Regions from separate parts of the Homo sapiens genome. Here region 2 is linked to region 1. The links are contacts of gene promoters, found by promoter capture Hi-C in human tissues and cell types (Jung and others, 2019). All regions are on one chromosome and are shown on one strand. The core of a region is centred on a gene start or on the middle of the fragment in contact, and the rest is flanking DNA. Distances in the headings are between cores, read along the strand shown.

The links. The method cuts DNA at HindIII sites, captures the fragments that hold promoters and counts their contacts. A contact is called where the count stands out against the background at its distance.
Region 2: a contact is called between a fragment that was not itself captured here and the fragment with the promoter of ST14 in region 1, in 2 of the 25 tissues and cell types used here (dorsolateral prefrontal cortex and spleen).

Annotation. Positions count from the first base shown.
Region 1 is chr11:130,157,539-130,161,552 of GRCh38, forward strand. ST14 (ST14 transmembrane serine protease matriptase) reads left to right here and starts at 2,244. Exons shown (of 19, transcript NM_021978.4): 1 at 2,244-2,522. The coding sequence starts at 2,442. RefSeq lists silencers at 2,123-2,242, 2,323-2,392 and an enhancer at 3,480-3,979. The HindIII fragment of the contact is 3,998 bases long and covers 1,232-4,014 here.
Region 2 is chr11:130,291,413-130,295,426 of GRCh38, forward strand. All of the region lies in intron 1 of ZBTB44 (zinc finger and BTB domain containing 44), which reads right to left. It also overlaps the pseudogene DDX18P5. Among named protein-coding and RNA genes, the nearest start is that of ZBTB44, 21 kb to the right of the region's middle. The HindIII fragment of the contact is 9,295 bases long and covers 1-4,014 here.

The DNA.
Region 1 (4,014 bases), core at 994-3,493:
GCTCACTGCAACCTCCACTTCCCAGGTTCAAGCAATTCTCCTGCCTCAGCTTCCCAAGTAGCTGGGACCACAGGCATGCACCACCATGTCCAGCTAATTTTTGTATTTTTAGTAGAGATGGTGTTTCACTATATGTTGGCTAGGCTGATTTCAAACTCCTGACCTCAGGTGATCCACCCACCTCAGCCTCCCAAAGTGCTGGAAGCCAACGTGCCAGCCTTTTAGAAATATTTTCTGTTTAGCTTTGGAATGCTTTATGTGATGGAAGGCAGCAGATTCATTCTTCTTTCAATTAAATTGACCCAATATATTGTGTTAGTCATTGTGCTAGGCTTTGAGGGTGCAAAGGCAGTTAAGACACAGACAGAAAATGCAACGAAATGGTGGTGAGCTCCATGAGAGAGGTACAAACAGAGCTAGTTCTGGTTGAGAGGGAAGGAAACTCCTGGGGAGGAGGTAGCATATCAGTCAGGAAGCGTGAGGTTTGCAGCAATAACAAACAACCCTCAGCTCTCGGTGGCTTAACATCCCAAAAGCTGACTGACTCCTCATTCATGCTACATATCCAGTGTGTGTCATTGTAGCCACTTAGGGTCACAGGTCACAGAGTTAAACCTCTCAGAAGAGAGCAGGGCATTGTGCAGTGCCTCCTTATGCTGCTATGTACAAGTGGTGTGTCCTCTCATTGGACATTTTCTTGGTTACCGCTAGCCATACTGCCATACCTAACTTCAGAGAAGAGAGAGTAACACCCTGGCCTGTGCCCAGAAGGCAGAGAGCTAAAAACATTCAATGAACAACACTAAAAAACCCCATCGGTGTCTTCGACCCAATATGCGGAAGGAGTATGAAGGAGAAGAGCTTCCAGGGGATGAAAAGCTTTATGAAAGCTGCCAAGATCAGAACGCCTGGCTGGAGAGAGGGGCTCCAAACAGGAATGCTTGGAGGCACGGTGTTAAGGGAGGACAGGGCAGAGTGTGAAGCTGGGCTAAGGAGGTTGGATTTGATCCGGGAGACACGGAAAGTCATAAAGGAGCTGTGGTTTCAGATTTACCTGACTGCTTTGTGTAGGAGAGATCAGAGGGTGGCAGCCCAGAGGCAGGAGATCTTTCTTAACCAGGCAAAGGGCTCTGAGGACTCGAATAGCGGTCTTCTAATGCGCAGGAATGGAAGGGCTATGCTTGTCAGCAGAGTCTTGATCAGATTTGGAACTAATTGGATATGAGATGTAAGCAGGGTGGAGAATCAAAGATGATTCCAGGATTTGAGCCTGGGAGAATGCTGCCATTAGAATTAGAGAAAACAGTGGAAAATGGGCAAGTCAGGGAAGGAAGATGGGGCTTGTTGATCTCAAAGCAGGGATTTTTATTTTGTTCACTCCTGTTTCCCTGTACCCAGGACAGTGCTTAGCGCCTAGTGTGTGCTTGGTAATGTTCATTGGCTACAGAATACAGTAGAACATAAATGGAGACGTCCCCAGGCGACCGCTAAGGCAGAACTGGCACTCCTTGGTGGTGTCTGTGCTGGGAGGGAGGTCTTCCTGTCTGAAGTCGTAAGATGAGACGTGCTGCCAAGAGAAAAAGCTTAGAGAAGAAAGGGATGAAACTGAAGGGAGAACTTTGGGAATCATGACATTTAGGACTAGAAAGGAGGACCGGAATCCAGGGAAAGGGGGCATTTGAGGAAGCATCAGATGCTGCAAGTGGGCGAGGGGCGTTGGGATGGCTCAGAGGGCATCTGGTGGCACAGCTCATGTCACTGGGCCTCCCCAGGGTAGCCGGGCGCAGGCCAGCAAGCGCCTCCCGCCTGGAGAACAGGAGGCTGCGTAGCCGACGGGGAGCCTGGGCCAGGGGCGGTTCTGGTTTCTGTTTGGTTTTGGGGGGTTCATAAATGCGATTTAGTCCTGTAGCAAAGTGAGCAAGGTGAAGGGGAGAGACCGGAGGCGCATGAGGGAGGAGGGAAAAGATGGTTGGCATCAAGGAGGTGGATAAAGGGCTGCCCTCCCGGGGCAGGGCCCCTGGAGGGCCGGAGGGGTGGTGAACGCCGTCGTGGTGATGGTGAGGGCCTTAGCGACCACCACCCGAGTGAGGCCCCCTCACCTTCAGGCCCAGAGCCGAGGGGAGGAGCCTCCCCCAGGGCCGGCGGGGGCGGGCAGGTGAGCCGGGCAGGTGCGCAGGCGAGCGCGGCGGGCTGGGCGGGCCGAGGCCACACCCTGAAACTACCTGCGTGGGCCGGGCCGGAGTGTGAGAGCGGAGCTGCAGCCGGAGAAAGAGGAAGAGGGAGAGAGAGCGCGCCAGGGCGAGGGCACCGCCGCCGGTCGGGCGCGCTGGGCCTGCCCGGAATCCCGCCGCCTGCGCCCCGCGCCCCGCGCCCTGCGGGCCATGGGAGCCGGCCGCCGGCAGGGACGACGCCTGTGAGACCCGCGAGCGGCCTCGGGGACCATGGGGAGCGATCGGGCCCGCAAGGGCGGAGGGGGCCCGAAGGACTTCGGCGCGGGACTCAAGTACAACTCCCGGCACGAGGTGAGCGCGGGCCGGGGACCCGGGGCGCTGGGAAGCTCCTGCCCGCCCGACCCTGCAGCGCGGCGCTGGGCTCGGCCGGCTCCCCTGGCGTGTCCGTCGGTGGCCGAGCTCTGGGCGCACAGGTGGAATTTCCTGTTCAGCGGGTGCCGGGCCGCGGGCGGGCGGGGCTGGCCGGACCTTTGGTACCGGACCGGCTGCGCCCCGCCAGGGGGAGGCGGGAAGCCCCTGGGCCTTCCTGCGCCCTCGGTCCTTTCTTTCCCTGAGTTGAAAAAAGGGGCTCCGTCTCGGCCCCTCCATGACTCTCGCGCTGTTAGTGAACATCTGGAAGAAACCAGGGGCTTGGAGTGGGGTTATTTGGGAGGAAGTGAAATTTCAGGAGGGTTTGGAGTCTCAGCCATCCTTGGCCTCTGCAGAAAGTTTCTTTCGTCTCTCTCCTTCCCCGTCAAAAGGCGCTTTGGGACCTCGCAGAGGACAACTGGGAGGCCAGGGCTTTGGCTGCCATACGGGCTGGAGCTAAGAACTCCAGAGTTGGGCTTGCCTGGGCTTCTCGAGAGGGGATGGAGCCCTTTGGGAAGGCGGCTGTATGGGAAGGGATGTGGGAACACACATGTCTTGAGCCTTTTGCGAAGTACCGAAACAGGAAGCTCTTCTTTGGCAGAAAGAACAATGAAAGACCTATTGAAAGATCTCAAAAAGATTACATGTTCCTGTATGGAGTTGGGGATGGGTCGCTAGTCACTTCATTGACGGACCCACCTAGGTGGTAGTGCCCGGGCGGGACCAGCAGCCAGGTCTCTACCCTCTCTGTCCAAGGCAGACCCCCAGGTTTCCTGGAAGGCCAGGGCATACCAGGTCAGGGCGGCGCTGAGAGGCAGGGGCTGTGTGGCAGAGAGTTTTGCTCCTCTGCAAATGATGGCCTCCCTGCCCTGCCAACCCTCACTTTCTCCCCTCCTTCCGGGTGCCCCTGGGCTCCATAGTCTCCGCCGTTGCTCCCTAAGTCAGGCCTGATTTTGGTGCTGTCTCAGATCAATTCCTTTTGTCCAAGCAGCATCCCGACCTAGGGAGCTTGCAGAAAATCAGACGCTGGGGCTTTGGAGGCTGCCTGCACCACAGACAGGACCTGGGGCTGGGCTCTGCTATTTTCTCCACTTTTCACCCTCAGCAAGGAGGAAAGCTTCCAGTGGACCTGAAGGCTTGGGCCCTTCCCCTGGCTGTGCCTGTGCCCTGCTGTGAGGCAGATTCACCTTCTCTTCCTTGCTGTAATTGCTATGTTTGTGTCCTTGCTAATTGCCTACTTGGGGTTCTAGACTCCCTGCCTCTTCAGCAGAGAACCTGCTGTTTGGAATTTGTTATTTCAGGGCAGTCCGGTGCCCCCACCCCAAGTTTGTTCTCCCTGACTTCCCTTTCTAGGACTCTCCTGCCCACACGGGGAAAGCAGGGTCTTCCTGGTCGTGTGGTCCAGCCTCCTCTCTGAGCCATCTCACCACCTGAC
Region 2 (4,014 bases), core at 948-3,447, 130 kb after region 1:
AGGTGTGAGCCACCGCGCCCGGCCAGCCTTCCATTTTTATGTCACTTTCAGATGTACTTTCAAATATATTCTTTGGATCTTAAAATCTTAATGAAACTAAAGATGAGAAAAATAAAGATTAGAGAAAATATGGCCTAACAGGGATTCAAATTCAGAGCCTCTGACTTTAATTAAATCCTATCCTCATTTTATCATTAAACCAAGCTGTCTTTCTCTACACTGAACTCTGGTGGTAGTTCTGTTGGGACTCACTGATCCTGTGTTTGATAGCATATCAATTTAGGTTTACCAGGGTATACACTCTAATCTCTCCAAGGATTATTCCAATATATTTATGGAATCAATCACATCTGTACTTCCAGCATAGGTTCTTTAAAAATCACTTTATGAATGCTTTCCTGATATAATTCATGTACAATAAACTGCATAGTGGACAATTTGATGAGTTATAACATATATATCACCACCACAATCAAGATAAGGAATACTGCCACAATTTCTGTAAGTTTCTTTGCAGTCTCACCTTCCTGTCCTTGCCAGGAATTATCAATGTGCTTTACACTTTAGTAGCTCCATTTTCTAGAATTTTATATAAATGGGATTATATAGTATGTACTCTTTTTTTCTGGCTTCTTTCATGGACATAATTATTCTGAGATTCATCCATGCTGTTGAGCGTAAGGATTTTTGTTCTTTTTATTGCTGAATACTATTTCATTGCATGGATGTAACACAATCTGTTTATCATTTAATTGTTGATAGACTTGAGTTGTTTGCAGTTGGGCTATTACGAATAAAGCCGCTATGCACATTTGTGTACAAGATTTGTGTGGACAAACCAGCAGATGTTCTTAATTATTTCTGTTTCTATACCATTTATGTGTTATACTCTTAATATGGCTTATTATACTGCAGTGATTCCATAAAAAAAGTCACTATCCACCAGTATAATACTTTACATACAAGTGATCAGTAAGTAGTTTACAGATTTTGCTCACCCATGGGCCTAATGAGACTTGACAGAAAAGGCTGAGCCTTGTCTATATTCTATAACTGCCTAAAAGAGTACATACACTGGTATGCAACAAGATCATAAGAAAAAAATTAAAAATTAAAAAAATAAATAAAAGTGTGCATTGAAAAATTGCTGAATAAATGTTCTTGATTTACGGTGCTTATTTTTGGGATAAGCGTATTATTCTTTTATGTTCAATCACATTATTATTAAAAGCTTAATTGCAAATGATAAACAAAACATATAAATTAGTATTTTAAGAGTGTAACATACACAACATACAAACGTTTTGCAGGAAACCTGTTAAAACAATTGATTTAGGAATGGAAGAACCACAGCTCAACGTAGAAACTTCATGTTAAACTTACATGGAAAATGTATACGTGTACTCAAACTAGTGAAAATTACAACTCACCCACCCCACCAAAAGTTATTAAAATAAGACGTTTCTCACTATTAAGACTCTTTTTTACTTTACAAATAGAGCAGTACCTCATATTTTATATTTTGCTCTAAACTTGTCACTCTTATCAATCTAAGTAAAGGCATTTTCCCATGATATGAACCAAGTTTTTAGATTAGATTTACATGAGAACTCATATTTGGGAACATGCTTTTTCTTTTTCTGAACACTACTGAAAGTGTTTTGTGATCTTTATTTCACACTAGTTTACTTCCCTTAAGTGTTTTTTAAGTTTTCAAGGAGAATTTCAAATGGACTACTTTATCTGAGTTGTAAAAAGATAATTTTAGGCCTGGAACAATGGCTCATGCATATAATCCCAGCACTTTGGGAGGCCAAGGCAGGAAGCTCATTTGAGCCTAGGAGTTCAAGACCAGCCTGGGCAACACAGAGAGAACTTGTCTCTACTAAAAATTAAAAAAAAAAAAAAAAAATTAGCTAAGTGTGGTGCTGTGCACCTGTAGTCCTGGCTACACAAGAGGCTGAGGCAGGAGGATCACTTGAGCCTGGGAGGTTGAGACTACAGTGAGCTGTGATTTCACCACTGCACTCCAGCCGGGATGACAGCAAGATCTTGTATCAAAAAAAAAAAAAAAAAAGACCATTTGGCCGGGTGTGGTGGCTCACACCTATAATCCCAGCACTTTGGGAGGCCAAGGTAGGTGGATCACCTGAGGTCAGGAGTTTGAGACCAGCCTGGCCAACATGATGAAACTCCATCTCTACTTAAAGAAAAAAAAAAAAAAAAAGAAAGAAATTAGCTGGGTATGGTGGTGCACGCCGTCATCTCAGCTACTTGGGAGGTTGAGGCAGGAGAATCAGTTGAACCTGGGAGGCGGAGGTTGCCGTGGGCCAAGACTGCACCATTGCACTCCAGCCTGGGCAACAAAAGCGAAATTCCATCTCAAAACAAACAAACAAACAAACAAAAAAACCATTTTATAACTAGTTGTTTTTCAATGAAACAAAGATTCTAATCATTTTACTCTATGAATAAGCCCTTTCTAGTTCAGAGATTTGAAAAAGTAATGGAGAGTTATCAATAAATCAATTAAATCAGAAACATTAAATGATTAGAATTTCCTCTCCTTGTTAGTAGTCACCAAGTCATGCTGATTGTTACTTTCTACATCAAGAGAAGATAAATTAATGTACATTGAATAACTCCCACCAAGTGTCACTATCTCACTCTGGACTCACAAACTCTGGTAAAAGGATTTTTTATATCCAGTTATAGGCCGGGCACGGTAACTCACACCTGTAATCCCAGTACTTTGTGGGGCCGAGATGGGTGGATCTCTTGAGGCCAGGAGTTTGAGACCAGCCTGGCCAACACAGCGAAACCCCGTCTCTACTAAAAATACAAAAATTAGCTGGGTGTGGTGGTGCACGCCTGTAACCCCAGCTACTACTCAGGCGCCTGAGGCACAAGAATTGCTTGAACCTGGGGGGCAGAAGTTGCAGTGAGCTGAGATCACGCCACTGCCCTCCAGCCTGGGTGACAGAGAGAGACTCTGTCTTAAAAAAATAAAAATAAAAATAAAAATAAATCCAGTGTTAAATGAGGAGACAGAAAATCAAATTAAATTGTCCATTTCCCTATAACTAAGTTAACAAAACCAGGATTTACACAAAGGTCTATATGACCAAAAAAAAAAAAAAAAAAAAAAAAAAAAAAATCTTCAATTCCCAGTTATTTCTCCCCACCCCATTATGTTGTTGTTTATAATAATTTAACCCATTTATGCCAGAGGTTGCAATTATTTGAATTTTTGCAATCAGACCTTAGCGATGACCTTGAGCAGGACAGAAATAACTCCCACATGCTTAGTGTTCCAATAATGGAACGGTAGGCAAAACAGGTTAATCAGAGTACTTAAGGGATATCTGCTATTCACATCATATTATTTTATCTAGAAAGAAAGACTGAATAGAGGGCCTATCTATCTTATTCATCCATTTGGCTCCTTACATGAGCAAGTAAAATTCAAGTCAGTTTTAGTCAACTAGCATTTAAAGAGCTCCTTATTTTCCCTAAAGAGTTTTTAAGCGTCCACACCAAGTACTCAAGAGTTCAACTGCATATACGCTTTAAAATATGTATACAAGTGGAAGCAACGTCAGCCCCGAGAACTGAGTAGCTGTACTGTGTGACGTCGTGATCTAGGCACTTCTTGGACAGCAATGTCTCACCTGCCAATGAAAAACTCCTGCGCAAGAAGATCAAGAAGCAGAAACTCAAACTGCGGCACCAGAACCTAAAGTTGCAGGGGCCTCAAATCTGACCCTGTCAGAAACTCAAAATGCAGATGTGTCTGAAGAAACAATGAGAGGTAGAAGGGTTAAAAAATGAAAACATTCTATGAATGTGGGCTTATCAGAAGCTCCAAATGGAGACATGTCTCAAGAGGCAGTGGAAGATATAAAACCTAAAAAATCTCCCCAGAAATCCACCGTATTAACCAATGGAGAAGCAGCAATGCAGTCTCCCAATTCAGAATCAAAAGAGAAAAATGGTGAATGATGCTGGGACTGA